2 separate regions of the Homo sapiens genome follow, and region 1 is linked to region 2. Evidence: promoter capture Hi-C in 16 types of primary human blood cells and fetal thymus (Javierre and others, 2016). All regions are on one chromosome and are shown on one strand. The core of a region is centred on a gene start or on the middle of the fragment in contact, and the rest is flanking DNA. Distances in the headings are between cores, read along the strand shown. Region 1 holds the start of LEMD1-AS1 (LEMD1 antisense RNA 1). Region 2 has its middle 14 kb from the start of ELK4.

What was found. Contacts are between HindIII fragments. The CHiCAGO score rates a contact against its expected background, and 5 or more counts as called.
Region 1: the fragment with the promoter of LEMD1-AS1 here is called in contact with a fragment that was not itself captured in region 2 in 1 of 17 cell types (naive B cells); the score reaches 5.1 in naive B cells.

The regions. Positions count from the first base shown.
Region 1 is chr1:205,370,821-205,376,408 of GRCh38, reverse strand. LEMD1-AS1 (LEMD1 antisense RNA 1) reads right to left here and starts at 3,157. Exons shown (of 4, transcript NR_038425.1): 1 at 2,975-3,157. RefSeq lists silencers at 1-188, 3,734-4,028. The HindIII fragment of the contact is 1,416 bases long and covers 2,956-4,371 here.
Region 2 is chr1:205,643,400-205,649,117 of GRCh38, reverse strand. No RefSeq gene overlaps it. Among named protein-coding and RNA genes, the nearest start is that of ELK4, 14 kb to the right of the region's middle. The HindIII fragment of the contact is 8,490 bases long and covers 1-5,718 here.

The sequences.
Region 1 (5,588 bases), core at 1,908-4,407, 270 kb after region 2:
CGAGGCTAAAGGAAAAGTCTGCCAGGCGAGGGAGCAGTATTTACAAAGACTAGTGTGTGAGAGACTGCATGGCAGGTTTAGGAAGCCACAAGAGAGTGAAGCGGGTGGGGAGAGATGCGGCTGGAAAAGAAGGTGGGATTCAGATCATAGAGGGTCTTGGGACCATAGGAAGGAAAATATGGTCTATGTTAAAGTTTGAACTTTAATGGAAGCCAATGCATAAGAAAAGTAACTCTTCTAAGGACTAACAGTGTCTGCCTCCCTGAATGTCTTCCGTGTCAGTTGCCACAGCCCCCTGAATGAGAGCTGGAGAGACAGGCTTCTAAGGAGGGGCCAAACCAAGGAGCTGTGTGCTGAATCCCTTGAGGGACTTGGGACAGGGGAGAGGCAGGTCAGTTTGCAGTGTATTGGCAGCAACAGATGTGGGCAGCCCAATGTGGGTGCCTTTGATACGGGCAGTGAATGGGGCAATGCTACTGGAGCAAAAGCAGCAGAGAAGGAATAATGAGGTGCTGGCTGGTGGCTGAGATAGCTTTGTGGGGCTCCCAGGGAGAACAGAATTGTGGCTGCAATTGCCCAGTGCAAATAGATAGGACAGGGGAATCGGGGGTGAAGAGGAACAGTTAAAACCTCTCTGCTTAGAAAACTCTAAGAATGCACTTGCCCTGTTTTTTGAGTATTTGTGATGTGACCCAAGTGTTTTATGATTCTTTTTTTTTTTTTTTTTTGAAACAGAGTCTCACTCTGTCACCCAGGCTGGAGTGCAGTGGCACGATCTCAGCTCACTGCAACCTCCGCCTCCCAGGTTCAAGTGATTCTCCTGCCTCAGCCTCCCAAGTAGCTGGGATTACAGGAACGCACCACCGCACCCAGCTGATTTTTGTATTTTTAGTAGAGATATGGTTTCTCCATGTTGCCCTGGCTGGTCTTGAACTCTTGACCTCAGGTGATCCACCTGCCTCGGCCTTCCAAAGTGCTGGGATTACAGGTGTGAGCCACTGCACCCAGTTCATGATCTTCTTTTTAAGGCTCACCTTTCCCTGGTAATTTGGGGAAAATAGGTCCAGGGAGTGGAGGCTGACTGACATCCCAGGATCACTGCCATCAAGCTGACCTCCGCAGAGAGCTGATGCAGGCCAGGCCAATTCTCCCACTGCTGCCCTGTCCCTACATTCTCCACAATACAGTGACACAGGCTGTGTAACAGGCTTTTCTGACATTTTAGATGGAAGGGAAAATGTATATGAAATTGAAATGTGGGGAGGGAAGAACCTTAACACCAAACGCTAAATGAATCATTCCCAGAATCCTAGGAAAATGAAAAGTGCTAACCCCATTAAAAGTGCATTGAAGTGGCTAGCTTTGCTTTCTGCTTCAGGATTCATCGTTTTCCAAGGGCCCCACCTTTAATCCTTCAGAGTGATTCTCCACCCTGAGACCCGCTTACAGGGCACAGTTATACCTCCCTCCCAGTGACTCACAATGATTCAGACGTAGTGCTGGTCTCAGACACAATCCTGCCTGAATCTATATAAAGAAAGAGAAAAATCTCCCTCACTCCACAACAGCATACTATGCCAAGATTTCTCCTGCTTCCAACGTGCAGAGTGTATTTGTTTGTTTTCAAATCTTATGCTTTGTTCTGTTTCTGCAGTTTCTAGAGCACAGCTGGGGACCTGGTACGTAAAAAACCGGCCTTACCTCAGTGCCTTCTCCAACAGCAGAGTCATTGACCCACCCCTATCCCAGCTATACAAGGACCCATGATCTTGAGATTTTCTTGACCTTGGGCCAAATCAAATTCCAAGGCAGGGCTCTAGTCTCAGCAATAGGAAGAGAATTAGTCTAGAGACTGATTTCTTCTTGTCAAGAGCAAACTCCTTGCCAGCGAGGTGTTTTATTTTTTCAATTTCAATGACTCGTCTGCCTCCCCTACAAATCTTGGAGCTCCTTGTGTCGAGGACTGTATCTTAATCATCTCTGGATCTCCTCTCGAAGTGATGTCTGTGCTACCTCCAGAAAGAGCCCATTTCCATTTTGAGCAGTTTCCAACTCAAATAGACATTTGAAACCACAAAACCAATACCCCAGATTTTGCTTCCTGTTTATCCCTGTGATGAGAAGTCCCTAAAATGAGCAAACTGCTGTTGAAAGGCATTCCCAATCAACCTCATTATGCAGTGTTTAGCCTTCTAACACACTGTCATTCCCACGGCATCCAAAGTCCTCATTCCTATAAATGTCACTATTTACAGCAGGGTCAATCCTGCCACCCAGCAAAGGTGTTCTCCATCCCATGGCCAAACAATGAAGTGGAGCCCTGGCTGGAGAAACAGGATTGAGCTAATTGCATGTCACACAGACACACTGGATTTCACAGGCTTGTGTTCTACAGATGGGGCGATGAGGCCAATTCTATTGCATGCATGCTGTTTAAATCTCTACCCAGTCAATATTCAGGGTGGCAGATGGAAGAAATTCTTAAAGGCTCTATTTCTGTTCTTCGACATTCAAAGAAATACTGTGCTACCACCTCTTAAAAATAATTGGTTAAGTACCAAGTTATTTTCATTGCCACAGTCATAAATAAAGAAGTGCTAGACCACAATGTTTATATCTATAGTAGTTGATAATCTTACATGCAAGAAAAATGATTGTTGATGTTTAGGAGGTTGTTTTTCTTGCTTTTTTTCCTCCCTTCCTTTCCTCCCCTACCCCTACCTCCCAGCCAAGAAAAGTCTTGTTGATTAGAGTAACAAGAAGGGGCTGATTTGGAAGTAAAATTAAACTTGACTCTTTCCTGAAGCAAGAACGTAATCTCAAGACTAAAATAAGAAAGTGCCTAACCAACTTGGCATTTTATTCTGAGGAAGATTCCCGATAGAAACTTGGATGGAAGAAAATGAAAGGGAAGCCAATTAGCCTGTGTTAAGCAATGCTAACTTTTAACAAGCTTGCTCAAGAAGAAATGAACCTGTTAAGAGGGTCATCCAGGGCTTCCTTGCCGCCTCGGTGCACAGCTCAATCATGCTTCCTTCTTGTTCATTTTGACAAAGCAGGTGAGTGATGAGCAGGAAAAAATTATGAGGAGGTGTTGGAGCAACTCGCTAATCAGCACTGCTACAAGATCGCCAGCATTTACAGGACCGCATTCACTGAGAAATGATGGCTGCTATGAATGTTCTCGTTTGTGGGCGTCACCTAAACACAACCCTGCCTAATGAATCAATCTCTGGAGAGCCAGAGGGGGCTATTCTAGGTACTGCAGATGTGGATGAGGACAGCTCTCCTCATTTCCTGGCAACAGGAGACTGGTGTGACAACTCTAATTCCTGGAGAGCCATTGGTAAAATCCTCCTTGGGTTCAAGAGTTAGCTAAAAATATGTGGAGGGGAAAGGATGAGTTTGTCCTTTTTTTTTTTTTTTTTTTTTTTTTTTTTTAGTTTATTGCTACTGGGTTTTTTTAAATTTGTCTCTTGAAGGAGAATGGATTATTAATGTTCATTACTGTTCTGATTAGGAGGCAGCCTTTTTCCCTTCCCAGATTAATGTTGGGCAACCCTTCAAATTGGCAGAGAGAAGGGTAACTCCACAACCTGTATGAACAGGGATGGCTTTGCTGCTGTGAAGAACATGTTGCTCTCACTTGCATTACTAGAAAAGAAAGGTGAGATCTGGTCTAAGAAGGGCTGAGGCAGAAATTTAAAAATAAATATGCATTAATTCACTCCGAGAAAAGTAACAGGCAAGGCAAGGGTTAAAAAGAAAAGAAGCAAGTTTTCCTCTGCTTAGCAGCTCACTTCAAGGACAGTTATAAGATAAGGCTGTCCGAAAAGCCAAGGCCAAAGGAATGGGCTCCAGACACCCACTCCTTCCTCCAGAGCAAGGTTGAAAGGAAAAAAAAGAAAGACAAATTCCTTTACTGTTACTCCTTTCCCTGGCTTCTTAAGCATAACTATGTTTTACAAATGTCTGTATTTAGCTAGTTCTTGTTTTTCTTTTGTCTCAGCTACAAGGCCACCAGCTATGCAAGGCCACAAGTTATGCACTATATGGTTAACTGCCTTTGTTTTGCTTTTGTAAGCCCGCTTATAAAAACCCCGCTCTGTCTTTGTTCAATGCTCAGCTTTTTGGATGTGAATCCACTGAGCCGGTGCATATCTTAAAATAAATATCCTCCTGTTCTGCCATATCGGTCTCTCCATTCCTCAGTTTACCTCAACGGGGCAACGTTAGGGAGAGTGTCCTAAGCAGAAGATCCAGGATCCAATTCTACCTCTGCCCTGGCAGGCTCCCGTGGGGCCTCAGCTTCCTCATCTGTAAAATGAGCACTAGAATGATCTGAGCCAGAAACTATGCAATGGGGAAGCTTAAAGACATTACGTTAAGTGAAATAAGCCAGTCAGAAAAGGACAAATACTGTATGATTCCATTTACATGAGCTACCTGGAGTAGTCGGATTCACAGAGATAGAAAGCAGAATGGTGTTGCCGGAGCTGGAGACTGTGGGGAATGGGGAGTTACTGTTTAATGGGTACAGAATATCCATTTTGGAGAATGAAAAAAGTTCTAAGATGGATGGTGGTGATGGCTGCACAGCAGCATGTATGTGCTTAGTGCCACTGAACTGTACCCTTAAAAATGGTTACAATGGTAAATTTTGTTATGTATATTTTACCACTATTTTTTTGAGACGGAGTTTCCCTCTTGTTGCCCAGGCTGGAGTGCAATGGTGTGATCTCGGCTCACCGCAACCTCCGCTTCCCAGGTTCAAGTGATTCTCCTGCCTCAGCCTCCTGAGTAGCTGGGATTACAGGCATGCACCACCATGCCCGGCTAATTTTGTATTTTTAATAGAGATGGGGTTTCTCCATGTTGGCCAGGCTGGTCTCAAACTCCCGACCTCAGGTGATCCGCCTGCCTCAGCCTCCCAAAGTGCTGGGATTATAGGCGTGAGCCACTGTGCCTGGCCTTTCACAATATATATTATAAAATAAACTAAGCAACTATCCACAACATTCACCCAAAGTATCAGGAGTCTCAAATTCAAGCACCCATGGGGGTCAGGCCATTTGTATGAGTGAGCCCACGGTCTTGCCTAGCGTACAGAGGAGGTAGTAGCTCCCAGCCCAGCCAAACCATCCATGCAGGAATGTGATCAGACTTTTCAAGAGGAAGGGAATATTCTGGATATTTATGTGAAATGTCTTAATTATTTAAATTGGCAACTAATTCAAAATTTTAAAAAGCAACAAACTGTGGGCAAACAAAATACATCTGCAGGTGAGATTCTGTTTTCTGCCTCTCTGTAGGTAACCAGTCTGTAGCATCTACTTTTTTTTCTTCTTTGTTTGCCAGCATTCCCACCCCCACATATCTCCCTTAATAACAGGTTCTGGCCAAGACAAACTATCTGGATAAGTCCATTGACCTTCTACATTGTGTACCTATGGGAGCCCAGCCAGAATATGCCAGCATAGGCAGGGTACACCCACCTATAGGCAGGTGCAATGGCATCAACACTGCCATCATTCTAGCAGAGCCTATCAGAGATCTGGGGTACACATGTGCATTTTCTAGCCCCAAAC
Region 2 (5,718 bases), core at 1,683-4,182:
ACTGCAAGTAGCCTCAGAAATGTCATGTTTACTGAGGTCTCTCCACCTGGGGTCTAAGACAAGTGCAATCTGGCCCTTGCCCTTAAGGACCACTTAATTTAGGTGGAAAAGAAAAAGCAGGTGTGAGTCAACCATGCATAGACGTGTCAGGGAGGATGAAAGCAGAAAACGCAGAACGTGAGCCACAAATAGAGTTTAGAGGAGGGAGGTCCATGATTACTCCTGATGGGAGAGGAGGAGGGAGCAGCCCTCACTGCCCCATCATGCTGGGTTCTGCCCATCTCCCAGAGGTGGGTGGAGCCCTGGGTTCTGGCCTGCATTTGAGGCTGGGAATTGAAGAGAAGGGGGCAGGAGGGGTACTGGATGGGCAATGTCCCATCCTTCACACATTTCGTGGGTTTTCCCTTCTGGCCTGGGGTATCCCTCCCTGCAGAGCCAGTTACAGAGAGATGGGGCAGTGGGCAGCCAGCGTAGGGGTGGGGAATATCTCCCAGGGAGCTTGGATCTCAGGTTACTCCTGGTGCTGCTGGGGAAAAAGCCCTTGGTTTCCAGGCTCAGATCTGATTACAGCAGCCTGACGGTTTTATCACCCTTGGCAGAAGGACTGTTTAGAGCTGGGACTTTCTGGCACCCAATACTGTCACTAGATCTCCATGCACATTAGGGGCAGCTTGCCCTGTGACAGAAGCACTTGGCCCCATTCTGCCCCCTAGTAGCATTTGACCTTGGACAAGTTACTGTCCTACTGTGTGAACAAGTGAGGGTGTTAACAGATCATTTTATTTTATTTTATTTTATTTTATTTTATTTTATTTTATTTTATTTTATTTTATTTTATTTTATTTTATTTTATTTTTTTGAGACGGCGTCTCCCTCTGTCGCCCAGCCTGGAGTGCAGTGGTGCGATCTCGGCTCACTGCAAGCTCCGCCTCCTGGGTTCACACCATTCTCCTGCCTCCGGAGTAGCTGGGACTACTGCCACCACGCCTGGCTAATTTTTTGTATTTTTAGTAGAGACGGGGTTTCACTGTGTTAGCCAGGATGGTCTCGATCTCCTGACCTCGTGATCCACCCGCCTCAGCCTCCCAAAGTGCTGGGATTACAGACCCAACTCTAGAATTCCAGGACCTCACTCTGTACCCCCCTCCCCCAATTGACTGTTTAGTATTTGACAGTCCCTAGTTAATGCACTCTCCTTCTTTCCATCAAGTAGTATCTGTCTACCTTCCTGTATGCTGAGCCTCATGTTAGTTCTGGGGCTGTGGCAATGAAAGACACACTGGCAGCCCAGATTTGGCACCGAGGAGGCAGACAGGGAGCAGCTGCCTGCCTGCTGAGGGACCTGATCCTGGAGAGGCTCTAGACCCAGAGAACACGGCACTGCCTGACCTCTTCTCAGTGATTTTATTACAGTGATGGGTGAAGAGTGTGGAGGCGGCTGCTACAGACTGTGCTCCTCCCCAGATTATGCTGAAACCTAACCCCCAGTGTGATGGCATTGGAAGTGGAGCCTTTGGGAGGCAATTAGGTCATGAGGGTGGAAGCCCTCATCAATAGGATTGGTGCCCTTTTAAAAGAGTTCTCTTGCCCCTTCTGCCATGTGAGGACACAGCGAGAAGATGGCCTCTATGAGCCAGGAAGCAGGCCCTCAGCAGACACTCAATCTGCCACAGCCTTGACCTTGGACTTCCCAGGCCCCAGGACTGTGAGGAATAAATACCCATTGTTTATAAGCCACCTAGTCTACGGAATTTTTTTCTTTTTTTTTTTTAGACAGAATCTCGCTCTATCGCCCAGGCTGGAGTGCAGTGGTGCTATCTCAGCTCACTGCAAGCTCCGCCTACTGGGTTCACACCATTCTTCTGCCTCAGCCTCCTGAATAGCTGGGACTACAGGTGCCCGCCACCACGCCCGGCTAATTTTTTTTGTGTATTTTTTTTAGTAGTGACGGGGTTTCACCGTGTTAGCCAGGATGGTCTCGATCTCCTGACCTCGTGATCCACCCGCCTTGGCCTCCCGAAGTGCTGGGATTACAGGCGTGAGCCACCGTGCCCAGCTATGGTATTTTGTTATAGCAGTTCAAGCTGACTAAGACAGTGAGGCGAACCCTGTTATCTTGCTTTCAGTGATAAAACTGGAGCCTGCTAAGGTGGTGTGACCTGCCCAAGGGCACACTGGTTCAGGGTTATTTTTCTTCTACCATCACCAATTTTCAAAGGTGGAGGTGAGGCTGTATAGGAAACCTTTGCATTATCTTTGCAGCTGTCCTGTAACTCTAATATTCCAAAATAAAAAGGTGTTTTTTTTTTAAGTGGAGGACTTTTGACCCGTCTCCTCACCTTCTGATACACACCAACCAACCAGTCAACCAGCCATTGCTGTTTACTGGATACCTGGTAGGTATAAGGCACCATGGTACGTACAACTATGGGGTGGGTATGAAGATGTCTAAAATGCTATCATTGCTCTCTTTGAGTTCTCAGTTTTCCCTGTGGGAAAATAAGACATGTTCAAGTGAAAAGTCCTTTTTTTGGTAATTTTTATTTTATGATTATTCTTTTTTTTATTTATTAGAGATGTGGTCTCACTATGTTGCCCAGGCTGGTCTCAAACTCCTGGCCTCAAGTCATCCTGTGGCCTCGGCCTGCCAGAGTTTTGGGATTACAGGCATGAGCCACCGAGCCTGGCCAGGAAAGTTATTTCTAACAGCACAAGACTGTTTGATAACTGCCAATAGGTACTGAGGTACAAAGTTGGGGGAAGTGGAGAGAAATGACCACTAGAAGGTTGTTTTTAAAATAGGAATAAAAATGATGATTTCCTGGCCGGGCACAGTGGCTCACGCCTGTAATCCCAGCACTTTGGGAGGCTGAGGCAGGTGGATCACCTGGGGTCAGGAGTTCAAGACCAGCCTGGCCAACATGGTGAAACCCTGTCTCTACAAAAAAAAAAAAAAAAGTTAGCTGGGGTGGTGGCGGGCACCTATAATCCCAGCTACTCAGGAGGCTGAAGCAGGAGAATGGCTTGAACCTGGAAGGCAGAGGTTGCAGTGAGCTATGATGGCACCACTGCACTTCAGCCTGGGTGACAGAGCAAGACTCCAACTCAAAAAAAAAAAAAAAAGATTTCCTTGTATGAAACAGCTGCAGAATGTTTTTGACATAATGAACTCTTGAAAGATGTGAGCACTTCAATTGATTGTACATATATTTTCCTAGCCTTCATGCATTAGCCATTAAAAAAAACCCACTAAGTCTTATTGATTTTATCTCCTACCTATCCCTCACATTGATTTTCTCATTGCCATCCTCACTGCTACTGTCATGGTTGGGCCCTTAGCATCTCTTTCTGGACTCACACATGAACCCATCCCTCTTCCTTTCTCCAGTCCCGCCTGTCCCTCCGCTGGGTCCATGCCTGTACTACAGCCTGGGTTATCTGGCCGGAGCACTGAGCTGACTACCTCATGCTTGGGCTGGCGGAGGACCCTCAGGAGACTCACGTTTCTGCATGCGACAAACAAGCCCCTTCACGTGTGGCTTTGTACACCTCTTTATCCCCTTTGCCCACCGCCTCAGCTCTCCCAGCCCCTCAAATCCTGCTTCAGCCATGATGACCTGCTTCCCTCCATTCAAGCAAACTTTGCTCTGTTGAGCCTCAGTGCCTTTGCTGTTGGCTGCATTCTCTTCATGGAGAGCTCTCTGCCTACTGAATTTGTATTTATTCTCCAACACTCAGCTTAAACATTTCTTTCTATGGCCTCTGAAGTTAATCACTCCTGCCTCAGTCTCCTTATAGCATACTGCTACTGTGGTCCTTATGTTCACTGGGCAGAAATTTGTTTGACTTCATCATCTGCTAAGTCTTTCCACATTTATTAAGCAACTACCACGTGCTGGGGCTGCGACACGGTGAAGAGACAGATGCAGTCTTTGTCCTCTTGGATGTCCCCAAGCAGTGAGGGGGCTGGAGATATGCAGAAGCAATTATAGAATGTGTCACAGTGCTGTGATGGGGGTGTGCCTGGAGGGGCCCAGTCTCAGAGGGGCCCTGGGGGATCAGAGAGGGCTTCCTAGGAGAAACGATGCTTGTTTTTTGTTTTTTAAAGACAGAGTCTTGCTCTTTCGCTCAGGCTGGAGTGAAGTGACTCTATCTCAGCTCACTGCAACCTCAGCTCCCCACCCCAGGTTGAAGCATTTCTCCTGCCTCAGCCTCCCCAGTACCTGGGATTATAGGCACGTGCCACCACGCCTGGCTAATTTTTGTATTTTTTTTAGTAGAGATGGGGTTTCACCATGTTGGCCAGACTGGTCTCAAACTTCTGACCTCAGGTGATCTGCCCACCTCGGCCTCCCGAAGTGCTAGGATTACAGGTGTGAGCCACTACGCCCAGCCATGATACTAAATTGATTTCTGAAGCCCAGGCAAGAATTTGCAATCTGGTCCTCCACCAAGATCTTCCAGGGAAAAGCTGCATCTTATTCATTGTTGTGTTGCCCCCACTCTAGCTCTGTGTTTACACATAGTAGGTGCTCATTACATTTGCTTGTTTGTTTAAATGAATTATTGGGCAAACAAAATGAATGGGCAAATGAAAACTGTATTTCTTTTGGGCAAGTGGACAACCTCAGCTTAACGCTCCAGCTTCTAATATCAGGTGGCTGGGCCTAAGATAAAAGTTGTGTTTTACTTTTGCGTATCATGTGGTTTACTGCAGTACTTTTTTTTGACCTTTAGATTCAGTTTAGTAATACTCTATGAATGATGAGTGGTTTCACAGTTTTTCAGATGAGTTTGTGGCTTTTGTTTCAGTGTGCTATAAAAAGAATAATTTTATTTAATTTATGAATATCTAGTAATTTTATAAGTAATATTTTCCTAAAAATCCTTTTAAATTTTCTTTTTCTTCTTTTATTTTTTTGAGACAGAGTTTTCACTCTGTCACCCAGGCTGGAATGCAGTGGTGTGATCTGGGCTCACTGCAATCTCTGCCTCCTGGGTTCAAGCCATTCTCCGGCCTCAGCCTCCCGAATAGCTGGAATTACAGGCATGTACCACCATGCCCAGCTAATTTTTGTATTTTTAGTAGAGATGGGGTTTCACCAAGTTGTTCAGGCTTGTCTCGAACTCCTGACCTGAAGTGATCTGCCTGCCTTGGCCTCCCAAAGTGCTGGGATTATAGGCGTGAGCCACCGCGCTTGGCTTAAAATTTTCTTAATGTTAAAAAAAAAAAAAAAATAGCTGGGCGCAGTGGCTCACGCCTGTAATCCCAGTACTTTGGGAGGCCGAGGCAGGCGGATCACCTGAGGTCAGGAGTTCGACACCAGCCTGGCCAACAATGGTGAAACCCCGTCTCTACTAAAAATACAAAAATTAGCTGGGTGCGGTGGCAGGTGCCTGTTATCCCAGCTACTCAGGGAACTGAGGCAAGAGAATCGCTTGAACTTGGGAGGTGAAGGTTGCAGTGAGCCGAGACCGCACCATTGCACTCCAGCCTGGGCGACAAGAGTGAAACTCCATCTTAAAAAAAAGATGTGAATGGCAGTGGAAAGAAATTGTAGGAATTGTGGGCAGGGGTGTTAGGGGAAGAGATAGAGTCGGAGACCAAGGATGGGCCTTGCCTTTATATCCAGGAGTTCAAAGAACTTGCCTGTCTGATACCTCTCTTGTTCACGACAGGGCCAGGCCTTTTGAGTGGCTGTTACCTACCTCTAAGGG